Linked DNA regions of Homo sapiens: region 2 is linked to region 1. The links are contacts of gene promoters, found by promoter capture Hi-C in human tissues and cell types (Jung and others, 2019). All regions are on one chromosome and are shown on one strand. Each heading gives the region's core, a stretch centred on a gene start or on the middle of the fragment in contact. The rest is flanking DNA. Distances are from core to core; before and after follow the strand shown. Region 1 holds the start of SLC39A3 (solute carrier family 39 member 3). Region 2 overlaps EEF2 (eukaryotic translation elongation factor 2).

The links. Contacts are between HindIII fragments. The study calls those that stand out against the background at their distance.
Region 2: a contact is called between a fragment that was not itself captured here and the fragment with the promoter of SLC39A3 in region 1, in 1 of the 25 tissues and cell types used here (aorta).

What each region holds. Positions count from the first base shown.
Region 1 is chr19:2,738,692-2,744,700 of GRCh38, forward strand. SLC39A3 (solute carrier family 39 member 3) reads right to left here and starts at 1,326. Exons shown (of 3, transcript NM_144564.5): 1 at 1,254-1,326. RefSeq lists silencers at 422-689, 1,098-1,497 and enhancers at 808-857, 1,558-1,607. The HindIII fragment of the contact is 11,347 bases long and covers 1-6,009 here.
Region 2 is chr19:3,978,822-3,985,051 of GRCh38, forward strand. It overlaps EEF2 (eukaryotic translation elongation factor 2), which reads right to left. Exons shown (of 15, transcript NM_001961.4): 2 at 5,315-5,529; 3 at 4,289-4,470; 4 at 3,986-4,197; 5 at 3,425-3,603; 6 at 3,126-3,231; 7 at 2,518-2,631; 8 at 2,020-2,158; 9 at 1,693-1,888; 10 at 987-1,245; 11 at 508-615. SNORD37 (small nucleolar RNA, C/D box 37) reads right to left here and starts at 3,751; the gene lies at 3,686-3,751. RefSeq lists enhancers at 2,652-3,503, 5,208-6,059, 5,353-5,572. The HindIII fragment of the contact is 5,039 bases long and covers 1-3,913 here.

The DNA.
Region 1 (6,009 bases), core at 76-2,575:
CTGAGGTCGAGAGTTCGAGACCAGCACCTGAGGTCGAGAGTTCAAGACCAGCCTGGCCAACACAGTGAAACACTGTCTCTACTAAAAATACAAAAATTAGCTGGGTGTGGTAGTGGGCACCTGTAATCCCAGCTACTTGGGAGGCTGAGGCAGGAGAATCACTTGAACCCAGGAGGTGGAGGTTGCAGTGAGCCAAGATCAAGCCATTGCACTCCAGCCTGGGTGACAGAGTAAGACTCTGTCTCAAAAAAAAAAAAAATTAGCTGGGCATGGTGGTACGTGCCTGTAATCCCAGTTACTCGGGAGGCTGAGGCAGGAGAATTGCTTCAACCCAGGAGGTGGAGCTTGCAGTGAGCCGAGATCGCGCCATTGTACTCCAGCCTGGGCTGCAGAGCAAGACTCCGTCTCAAAAAAAAAAAAAAAAAAAAAAAAAGGGCCTCCCTCTCTGCCCCTGGCTGACTCCTGCCCTAAACCATATCCCTGTACCCGCCGGAAGGCCTGCTGCAGAACAGATACTCAAAAACCGCTGGCTGAACACATGGACGAGGGGAAGCGTGTGGCCACTGATAAGGGCCGCATTTTACCTGATGCAATGGGCCAAAGTGAAGTCGGTTTCACCCTGGACCCCAAAATGTCACCGTTCTTAGGAGGAATCTCAGCTCCTCCCCTGTCCTTGAGTTTTCCCCAACTGGGTTTTCTCCCCCACCATCAGCCCCAAGCGCCTCATGGCCCCGCTACCTCACTGCATTCAGGTCTTCGGGTCACTGCTCAGATGTCTCCACTCAGAGCTCTCCCCGCCCCCTTCCCTGGTGTTATTTTCTTTTATTTTGTGCTACAGAGGGAGCTAGGAATTACATTATTTTAAGTCATTTAAAGTCGTCCCTCCCCCCCGGCGGTGAGCTGGGCGGGACCAGGCTGTCTGTCTTGCTCAGGGCCAGCTGCACCCAGCGCAGAGCCACCCAGGCACACAGTAGGCGCCCAATAAAGACCTGTCCGGCATCTGGATACCTCAGTCTGTACAGTGAAGGTGAGGGTGGCCTGCACGCTCTCAAACCGGAGGCTGCTCGGGCCGGGATGAGGAGGGCACGGGCTCATTCATTCAATCAGCACTTATTGAGCGCCTTCTGTGTGCCTCGCGCTACCGGGCACCGGAGACGGGCCTCGGCTAACGTGCGGGTAGAGTCCAACAGACCCCCGGCCGCTCAGCGCCGCCCCGCCCCGCCGCCCCAGGTCCTCTCTCTGCCCGCACCTACCTCCCGGGGGCCCCTCGTCCGCCGACTGGCGCCGCTGCACGCCCAACGGCCGCGCAGTCTCGACCCCACAGACGCGGCCCGGAGAGGCCCCGCTCGGCGCGGCTGGTCCACGCCCCGCCCACGCCCCTGCCCATTGGCCTCCCCGAGACCCGCTGGCAGAACTTTCCATACTATTGGCTGCGAAACCTGCCACTCATATGCGACTCCACCTCTCCTACCGGCACAGGAAAGGGGTTTCCTCCCGCTGAGCGGCGGGCGCAGCCACCAAGCGGCCCCGGCGGGAAACCCGGATTGGCGAGGAACGGTTCCGGCAGGGTTGGGTTTCCAGAGCTGTCCAGGGGCGCCTGGTGCTGAATCCCGCTTGGAAAGAGGCTTGGAGGTGGATGGGAAGGGATTTCCAACGGAGGCGGCTCCTCTCTCAGCGTCCTCGCTGCTGATCCCCTTACCGACGGCTGAAGAAGCAGATTCATCCCTTCAACAAATCTCTGTTGATAGGCAGGAGGAGTAAGTCCAAGAGATCGACTGTACATCATGGTGGCTACAGCTCGTAACAATGCATTGCATACTGCAAAATTGCTAAGAAAGTAGATGTTACATGTTCAAACCATGAAAAAATAAGTATAGGAGGTAACGCGTAAGTTAAAAACCAAATCTTGGCAGGGCGCAGTGGCTCACACTTGTAATCTCAGCACTTTAAGAGACCGAGGCGGGAGGATCGCTTGAGTCCAGGAGTTCAAGGCCAGCCTGGGCAGCATAGTGAGACCCCATCTCTAAAAAAAAAAAAAAGGTTTTTTTTGAGACAGAGTCTCGCTCTTGTCACTCAGGCTGGAGTGCAATGGCGCGATCTTGGCTCACTGCAACTTCCGACTCCCGTGTTCAAGCGATTCTCCTGCCTCAGCCTCCCGAGTAGCTGGGATTATAGGCGTGTGCCACTATGCCGGCTAATTTTTGTGTTTTTAGTAGAGACGGGGTTTCACCATGTTGGCCAGGCTGGTCTTGAACTCCTGACCTCAGGTGATCCTCTTACCTTGGCCTCCCAAAGTGCTGGGATTACAGGCATGAGCCACTGCGCTTGGCCTGATGACTTGATTCTAACAAATAGAAAATGGCAAATGAATGGGATGTCATTCTGCGATTAGGCTATGAGAGATTGTGACTTCTGTTTTGCCAGCAGAGCCTGTCTCTCGCCTTCTCAGCCTACGTGTCTTGACAAAGCAAGCTAAGATGCTGGAGAGATCCAGAGGGAAAGGAACTGAGGGTGTCCTCCAGCCAACAGTCAGCAAGGCAATGAGACCCTCAGCACAAGCGTCCATAAGGAACCAAATGCTACCAACAGCCATGAACGTGATCATGGAAGAGGGTCCTGCCCCAGTTGAGCCTTTGGATGACTGCTTCACTTCAATTGCAGCCTTTGAAACACCCTAAAACAGGGCTGCATGTGGTAGCTCATGCCTATAATCCCAGCACTTTGGAAGGCCGAGGTAGGCAGGTCACTTAAAGTCAGGAGTTTGAGACTAGCCTGGCCAACACGGCAAAACCCCATCTCTACTAAAAATACCAAAATTAGCCAGGCATGGTGGCGGGCACCTGTAGTCCCAGCTACTAAGGAGGCTGAGGCATCAGAATCACTTGGACCCAGGAGGCAGAGGTGACAGCGAGCTGAAATCATTACCATTACACTCCAGCCTGGGCAACAGAGTGAGACCCTGTCTCAAAAGAAAAAAAAAGAAGAAGAAGAAGAAGAAAGAAAGAAAAACAAAGACCCTGAAAACAGAAGACCCATATGAACTGCATCTGAATTCCTCACCCACAGAAACTGAGATAACACATGCTGTTCTAGCCACTTAGTTTTGTGTTTGTTTGCTTGTATTTTGAGACAGGGTCCTGCCCCATCACCCAGGCTGGAGTGCAGTGGTGCAATCACAGCTCACTGCAGCCATGACCTCCTGGGCTCAAGCAGTCCTCCCACCTCAGCCTCCCGAGTAGCTGGGAGCATGTGCCACCATGCCCAGCTAATTTTTTACCTAATGTCACACAGGCCAGTCTTGAACTCCTGGATTCAGGAAACCCTCCCACCTCAGCCTCCCAAAGTGCTGAGATTACAGGCATGAGCCACAATGCCTGCTGGCACTAAGTTTGGGGGAAAATTTGTCATATGGCAGTAGGTAACTAATACACATACATACTAGAAAAACTATAGGTTGTACTAAGTTCTGTGAAGAAAGAATGAGAGAGACTTCTGTGCAGGAATTAGCCAAGTCAAATGTACTGAGAAGGCCAGGTGTGGTGGCTCACACCTATAATCCCAGCACTTTGGGAGGCTGAGGTGGGTGGATCACTTGAGGTCAGGAGTTCAAGACCAGCCTGGCCAACATGGTGAAACCCTGTCTGTACCAAAAATATAAAAATTAGCAGGGCGTGGTGGTGGGCGCCTGTAATCCCAGCTACTCGGGAGGCTGAGGTAGGAGAATCGCTTGAACCTGTGAGGTGGAGGTCGCAGTGAACCGAGATCATGCCACTGCACTCCAGCCTGGGCGACAGAGCAAGACTCCGTCTCAAAAAAAAAAAAAAAAAAGAAAAAAAAGTACTGAGAAGTGGGGAGAGAAGAGAGGATAGTTGACAAAAAGATGGAGAAGGGCTTGCTGCATTTGAGGAGTTGGAAAGCCAGCCTGGCTGAATGTTCGTGAGCAGTAGGGAGATGGGAGATTAGGGACAGTCCCATAGACCGTGCTATGGAACTTGGATTTTACCGTAATTACAGTGTGATTCATTGAAGGATTTTAAGTAGGTGAAGGTTGTCATCTAATTTTAATTCTTAAGATTATTTTGACTCGTGTGTAAAGAAAGGCTGAATTATAGAGAAGCAAGAATGGAAGCAGGGAGACTACTTCAGAGCCCTCTGGGCAAGAGTTGGGCTGGGTGCCTTGGCGCACACCTGTAATCCTAGCACATTGGGAAGCCATTGCAGGAAGATCGCTTGAGCCCAGGAGTTCGAGACCAGCCTGGGCAACATAGTGAGACCCTATCTCTATTTCTAAGAAAAGACTTGACGGTAGTTTAGCTGAGGGCATTGACAGGAGAAAGGACAGTGGGTGAATTTGAGAAATATTTTGGAGGGTGAATTGACAGGACTTAGCACTGGTTTGTCTGTGTGGGTTGCAGGAGAAGGAGGTGTTGGGGGTGACTTCTGGTTTTCTGCTTTGAGCCATCCGATGGATTCTGGTGCTCACTAAAATAGGAAAGACTGGAGGAGGCACAGAGATTGAAAGCGTCAAAAGACAGAGTTCAGTTTCACAGAGGCTATAAATGAGACATCTACAAGTTCTTAGCATTTAATGCCATTTTCTGCCTGCGTGGCGCTGATGTCATCATGTGGAACACACTGTTTCTGGTAGCTATTTTTATTATTAGATGCAGAGTGATCTGACTCTGTTTCTGCTTTCCATAACTCACGACAAGAAAAAGATGGCTTGTAACATAAGCACACCAGGTAGACGCCACAGGACGACTCCTTCCTAAGGGGAATTCATAGCATGCGATATTTATTCATAATTGTTTGGAGAATCAGCCTGCTCAGGGAAAGAGCTACGTAAGCTTTGGGCTTTGATTCATTCAGTACGTGTTTTTGAAAACCTCCTGTGCACCAGAAGCCATGTAGGAGCAGATGTCTTCAGAGCGCAACAGAAAAAAAATACTAATAAAATATAAAATAACATAAAAGCAGCACAGTGGTGCATACCTATAATCCCAGCACTTTGGGAGGCTGAGGTAGGAGGATCTCTTGAGCCCAGGAGTTGGAGACAAGCCTGGGCAAGATGATGAGACCCTATCTCTATAAAAAAAAAATACTGACAAATTGACTGACTTCAGTATTTCAAAAATCTTCCATAGTAAAAAACACCATGAATGGGCTTAATAGACAAGTGACAGACTGGGAGAAAAATGTTGATACTATATGAGACAGAGCCCTTGATAGAAAATAGAAAATAAACATCTTAAAATAAAAATAGGAAGGGTGATGAATGAGCAATTCACAGGGGAACCAATATAAGAGGTGAATAAATATAAGAAAAGAGTCTCAATCCATGAAGATAATCATGAAAATACAAAATAAAACAAGGGGCCAGGCACGGTGGCTCACACCTATAATCCCAGTACTTTGGGAGGCTGAGGCAAGAGGATAACTTGAGCCCTGGAGTTCAAGACCAGCCTGAGCAACATAGTGAAACCCTGTCTCTTCAAAAGAAAAAAATAAAAAATAAAAAATAAATTAATCACCCAGGTGTGGTGACACATGCCTGTCACCCCAGCTACTGGGAGGAGGGAGGATTGCTTGAGCCCAGGAGATCAAGGCCACAGTGAGCTATGATCATGCCACTGACCTCCAGCCTGGGCAACAGAGCAAGTCCCTGTCTCAAAAACCCAAAACAAACAAACAACAACATCAAAACAACAACAAAAACGGCTGGGCAAGGTGGCTCACGCCTGTAATCTCAGTGCTGTAGGAGGCCAAGGCAGGCGGATCACTTGAGGTCAGGAGTTTGAGACCAGCCTGACCAACGTGGTAAAACCCTGTCTCTACTAAAAATACAAAAATTAGCTGTACCTGTAATACCAGCTAGGTGGGAGAATCACTTGAACCCAGGGGGCAGAGGTTGCAGTGAGCTGAGATTGGTCCACTGCACTCCAGTCTGGCAACAAGAGCAAAACTCCACTTCAAAAACAAAAACAAAAAAAACAGAGAAAAAATTGAAAA
Region 2 (6,230 bases), core at 144-2,643, 1.2 Mb after region 1:
AAAAAAAAAATAGCCCTGGGCCAGGCATGGTGGCTCACACCTGTAATCCCAGCACTTTGGGAGGCCGAGGCAGGGGGATCACGAGGTCAGGAGATCGAGACCATCTTGACTTACTAACACAGTGAAACCCCGCCTCTACTAAAAATACAAAAAAAAATTAGCCGGGCGTGGTAGCACGCGCCTGTAGTCCCAGTTACTCAGGAAGCTGAGTGAGGCAAGAGAATCGCTTGAACCCGGGAGGTGGAGGTTCTAGCGAGCCAAGATCACGCCACTGCACTCCAGCCTGGATGACACAGCGAGACTATCTCAAAAAAAACAACAACAACAACAAAAACAGCCCCACATGCCTGTGGAAGACTGCAAAGAAGAAACTTGAGGAACTTAAGAAGCTGAGACCAAGACCGAGATCAAGTCTAGGCGTCTGCAGAGCCTAGCTCAGCTCAGCTTTAAAGCAGAGGGCAGGTGTCCGGGGTGGGGCGTGGGGAAGGCTGGTCACTGGCGCCTCACCTTGATGGGGATGCAGGCGTGGTCCTCCTCCAGGTCCTTCAGGCAGATCTCCAGGTGCAGCTCGCCGGCGCCCGCGATGATATGCTCTCCCGACTCCTCGATGATGCACTGAAAGGGATGCGGGTCAGCACCAAAGGGGTAGGCGGCTCGGAACAGGCGGGACCAGGCTCCCAGCTTCCCTTTAGCTAGGGACCCCGCCAGAACAAGATTTCAGGGAAGGTGCTGGGAAACTGGGACCAGCACAAACTCCTGAAGAAATGTTAAGTCCCACAAGCTACAGTGAACACGCGCAGAGCAGCCTAGGAGAGGGTGGTGGCTGCCTGGGCAGGAGTCTCCATTTACAGCCACAGCCAAGAACCCCTCCTTTCATGACCAGTCACCCCAATCCACCAACCACAGCAACCCACACAGCCACAACTCAGGACACAAGCCGTCCCCCCTCAGGGTGTCTGCTCCCAGCAGGTGCACTCCGTGCCCACCTGCACCATGGGGTCGGACTTGGCCAGCCGCTTCAGCCCCTCCACCAGCTTGGGCAGGTCAGCCGGGTTCTTGGCCTCCACGGCCACTCTGACAACAGGGCTGACGCTGAACTTCATCACCCGCATGTTGTGCGCGTGCTCGAAGGTGGTGATGGTGCCCGTCTTCACCAGGAACTGGTCCACGCCCACGAGGCCCACAATGTTCCCACAAGGCACATCCTCGATGGGCTCCACGTAGCGGCCCATCATCAAGATTGTTCTGGAAGAAGCAGAAGGCGGCAGCAGGCCGCAGGGATGGTTGTGCTGGACCCTGGAGGGCCAGGGCAGGTCCCTCCCGGAGTTGGTGGCCCTCCTGCCAGGTCCCAGGGCAGACTGGTGGCTTCCACAAGGCCCTGACTGCTGCGTCGGGGCTGTCAGGAAACATCCTCTTCAGAATCACTGCCCTCCTCCCTGGGTATGGGTCGACGGCCGCCACCCACCTGTGCCCAGGGACACAGATGAGCAGGGGTGTGCTGTGCCCTGGGGCTTGGAGCTTCTCCAGAAATGCCCTCACTGGGCTAAGAACAAAAGTTGTGGCTGGCACAAGTATCACCCTATATTCCTTCTATGCTCCTTACTTCTAGCTCCCGACTGAGGAGCCCAAGACTTGGAGCAGGGCAGGGCCCGCAACAGTGCCAAGGGGCCTGCACATCACCCAGCTGCTCACCTCTGGATTGGCTTCAGGTAGAGGTCCTCCTTCTTCCCAGGGGTATAGTTGGGCCCCATGATCCTGACCTTCAGGCCAGTGGAGACCAGCCCCGAGAAGACTCGTCCAAAGGCGTAGAACCGACCTTTGTCGGAGGTTGGCACCATTTTGGAAATATACATCATAAGAGGGCCTTTGGGGTCACAGCTTTTAATGCCTGAGGGACAGAGAAAACCCGCAAGCTTTATTCCAGTGCAGCTCAGCCTTCTGGAACCCTGCAACCCACAACCTTGGGCAACAGGAAGTCATCCGGCTGCATCTCAGGGCCCGGCCACCGGGACCACGTACCCATGGCAGCCTCGTCGTCCGGGGGCCCCTCGTACAGGAGCTCGCAGCGGTACTTCTGGGCCGTCACAGGGGAGGGCAGGTGGATGGTGATCATCTGCAACAAGGCGTCTCCGGCAGGCAGCCAGCGGCGCATCACAGCCTGCGGGGGCAGAGAGCGGTGCATGAGACACCTGGGGAGCCCAGGATGGCCCCACCCCGTACACGCTTCCTCTCTTGAAGCCAAGGAAGCCAAAGTCAGGACTAACGTTCTCCAAAGCACAGTCCCTTCTGGAAGGCGGCAAAGGCCATGCACACTCCTGCCAAGGCCCTCACCCACACCTGTCCCGGATGGGGCTGGCTGCTGGGATGTGTCTCCAGCAGCACCCAGAGTCTAAAGCGAAAGGGGCAGCAGCTGTCCCTGCCCAGCTGAGGACTTCAGCCCCCAGGCCTGGGCTGTCAGAGCATCCGGAAACAGCAGCCTGTGTTCCCTCCACCCCGAGGGCTGGGCCCAGGCCGCACCTTCAGCAGGGGTTTGCCTTCTTTGTCCTTGTCCTCGCTGTCCAGTTTGATGTCCAGTTTCTCTATCAGTTTTGCTGTCTCCTCTTTCTTGAAATTCATGATCGCATCAAACACCTACATTCCCCACCAAGAAACAAGAAAGCCCATTTGGGAACAGCAGGAGGAAGCCTGGCACTGCTTCCTGCTTGGAAGACTCAGGTCAGCGCAGGGGGACGCAGCACGGGAGCAGGAGCAGGCCTGGCCTGCCTACCACGGGCCCAGCCAGCTGAGCGGATCGGGAGCTGGAGGAAACCTCGTGGTGGAGCAGAGGAAAAAGCCCACTCTGACTCAGACAAGGACCCAAGTTCTGACTTACAAGCACTGAACCGCCAAAGCCACAAGTTATTCAACCCCCTCAATGCAGGAGAGGTCCCAAGGCTCTGGCTATGCAGTCCAGATCTTAAGAGAGGAGCCCTGACTCCACCTCAGTTAGGAGCTGTGCCTCCTCCCATCTCGCATCTGCCCCACAAGGAGACGGGCCCAGTCAGCCGACAGGCTACCGGCCGGAGCCCACAGGGCCGAGGGCCAATAGTCGCATCGGCGGGGTGCCTGGCGCAGCCCTCACTCACCTTGAAGATGGGGTCCAGGATCAGCTGGCAGAAGGTGCGTGGCAGCTTCTTCCCTTCGGGGCTGGTGGCTGACTTGCTGAACTTGCCGTTGGCTGGGTCAAAGTACCTGGCAAGGAGAGGCCAAGCCAAATCAAGTTAGGGTCTCCAGGGGATGACTTGGGGAGGGTGGTCGCCAAGGGGACATGCTTGGGCAAGACCTGGTGGGCTTGAGCCACGCTGTGAATAGCACACCACGCCCCTACGTCGCTGCCACTACCCCCAGGTGTCAGGAATCCCCCACCATATCCCGCGGGGCTCACCTGTCACCCCACAGCTTCTTCATCATGTCCTCTACTTTCTTGGCCCGCTCGGCAGGCCCCAACTGGCCCTCCCCCTTGGCGGCGAACTTGGCCACATACATCTCGGCAAACTGCTTCAGGGTGAAGGCCCACCCGTGGAGGCCAGACCCAAAGCCCACGGTACCGAGGACAGGATCGATCTGGAAGTGTGAGAAACGAGAAGCAGCCGTGAGGGCCCCTGCGCAGAGCCTGAAGCTACGGGCTGGGCGCCTTGGGCATGGGCCTCAGACGCAGGCTTTCTTCAGTAGACATCTGGTCAAAGTGAAGAAATGATCAGTCATCACGAATAGGGGGGCCAGCCCCTCCACCACCCAGGGCAGCGTTCCCTGAGCTCGTCTCTTCCAGCTGCCCAAAGATCAAGGGCTGGGTCAAGTCGGATGAAAACATTCCAGCCCCCTTCTCTGTCACCCAACATTCCTGGCAAAAACACACTTCCAGTCCCCCTCAGCTCAACTCCACTCCCCACCGGCTCCTGCAGATCCCGCTGCGGCAAGCCCACCACCCAGCTAGGGAGGGCCGTACCATGATGTTGCCCATGGGGCCGCTCTCGCCCTCGCCGTAGGTGGAGATGATGACGTTCACGTTCTCCACGATGCGCTGGAAAGTCTGGTAGAGCTCCTCGGGCTCCAGCTGCAGCTCCAGCAGGGCGCGGTCCATCTTGTTCATCATCAGCACAGGCTTGATGCGCTCGGCAATGGCCTGCCGCAGCACTGTCTCCGTCTGCACGCACACGCCTGGGGACACGGGGGACAGGGCGGCGCTGTCATCCTCAAGCAAGGATGGCCCCCGGTTCCAGGCCGTGCCTCAGGGGGACCCACTGCTTACCTGACACGCAGTCCACCACCACCAATGCGCCATCGGTGACTCGGAGGGCAGCAGTCACCTCCGAGGAGAAGTCGACATGCCCGGGGGAGTCAATGAGGTTGATGAGGAAGCCGGCACCGTCCTTGCTCTGCTTGATGAAGTTCAAGTCATTCTCCGAGAGCTCGTAGAAGAGGGAGATGGCACTGATGGAGGGAGGGACTCGTCAGGGGGACAGGAGCCACACACCTGGCCCAGGGAGTCTGGGATGCTGTCAGAAGCCAGGCTGCTCCTCCCTCCATGACTCATCCCTGGAGAGGCTCCCACAAGAGCCAACCCACCCTTGTCCTTTGCCTCTGTCCGAGACATGCCACCCCCATGACAGGGAACTCCTGGTACCAGCCCCATAGCCAGATCCTCAGAGCCCTCCTGACCAGACATCCTGCCCCACCGACTTGGTCCCAAGATTCATCACACCTGACTCAAAGTAGCAACTAAAAGACCCAGCAGGACGGCAAAAGCCTCCAGAGACTCCGACCCTCCCCTCCTCACTTCTGCCCCTGCTCCAGGGGAAATGAAGAGCCTTAGCCAGAGTCCCTCACCAATGTACCAACCCAGGACAAAAAGCAGTTGGGGTCACCGTACTCTGCGCTCCCCCTACTCATATCGGGGCCAGAAACTGACATGGAATGAACATCATCCAGTGCAACACAGGAGCTTCCCAGCGTCCCAAGCACTAGAACACCCTCCCCTCCCAGGTGTGACAGCCAAACCTCTCCAGATATTGTAGGAGTGGGGGCAAGTCCCCCAGGGAGGGAGAACCACGGAGTTAAGCCCCCTCCTCAAGAAAACCTTCCAGCTCGCAGTACCCCGAATCCCTGTGCCTCTCCATCCTGTCTCGCTGGACTGAACCTCACTCATTCTCCCATGAATTAAGAAACCAGGGGAAAGAGACGTTGCCAAGTCTCTCCCCGCGCACCCTGGCCCAGTGGCCTCCAGCTGCCAGGCCAGCACCTCCCTGCCTGGGTACAGAGGGCACAGGGAGCTCACGTTGACTTGATGGTGATGCAACGCTCCTGCTCGTCCTTCCGGGTATCAGTGAAGCGTGTCTCCCCGGCCCGGGCCGAGGCGATGATGCCCGCCTTGCACACCAGGGAGTCTGTCAGCGTGGACTTGCCATGGTCCACGTGGGCGATGACAGACATGTTGCGGATGTTGGCCTTCTTGTCCATGATGGCGCGGATCTGGTCTACCGTGAAGTTCACCTGGGCAAGACAAGGAGGCTCAGACCAGCTCGTGATTTCCAGGAACACAGCATGGCACGGAGCGTTCAGTCCAAACGAACCAGCATGCCCAAGGCCAGGAGGGGGTTGGTGCTGGGGTGCCCCAAGCCCACCGAATCTTGCCAGCCTAACACCCCTTAAGAGCCACCCCGCAATCTCCAAGGAACCACCGTTAATAGGTGTCATTCATGATTGACAACCCAGAAATAAAAGTGCTCAGGAATAAAACTGAGTGTCAACAGATTTCCTTGATACCAGGTACAAATACTAAAGTCTCATTTGGGGCCAAACACGTAAGGGATGAATCCTCTCCTAAAGCCCCCTCCACGTTGTCACCGGGCCACCCAAACTTCCCCGAGCAAGAAGCTTCATCATAAAATGCAAGGTCACCCCTTGGCAAACGGGATCAGACAAGGCCACCCACCCCAGGAAATAACGGGGAGCCGGAACGGCCCTAACTGCCACAAGCCTACACCTCGTGTCTCAATAAGAGTCTTTGTACATCTGGGAGTCATAGGAAGGACAAGTGCCTAAGGTCGACGATTAACAGCATCAGGAGAAGGTATTTGGAAGGAAAAGGGGAGCCTTTCAGGTGTCGCTTTGCTCGTTCTGCCATTCCCTGCCGCCCCTAGTCCCCCGGCAGAAAATCGATCTCAAACTCGCGGCCCGCGGGTTACATAAGG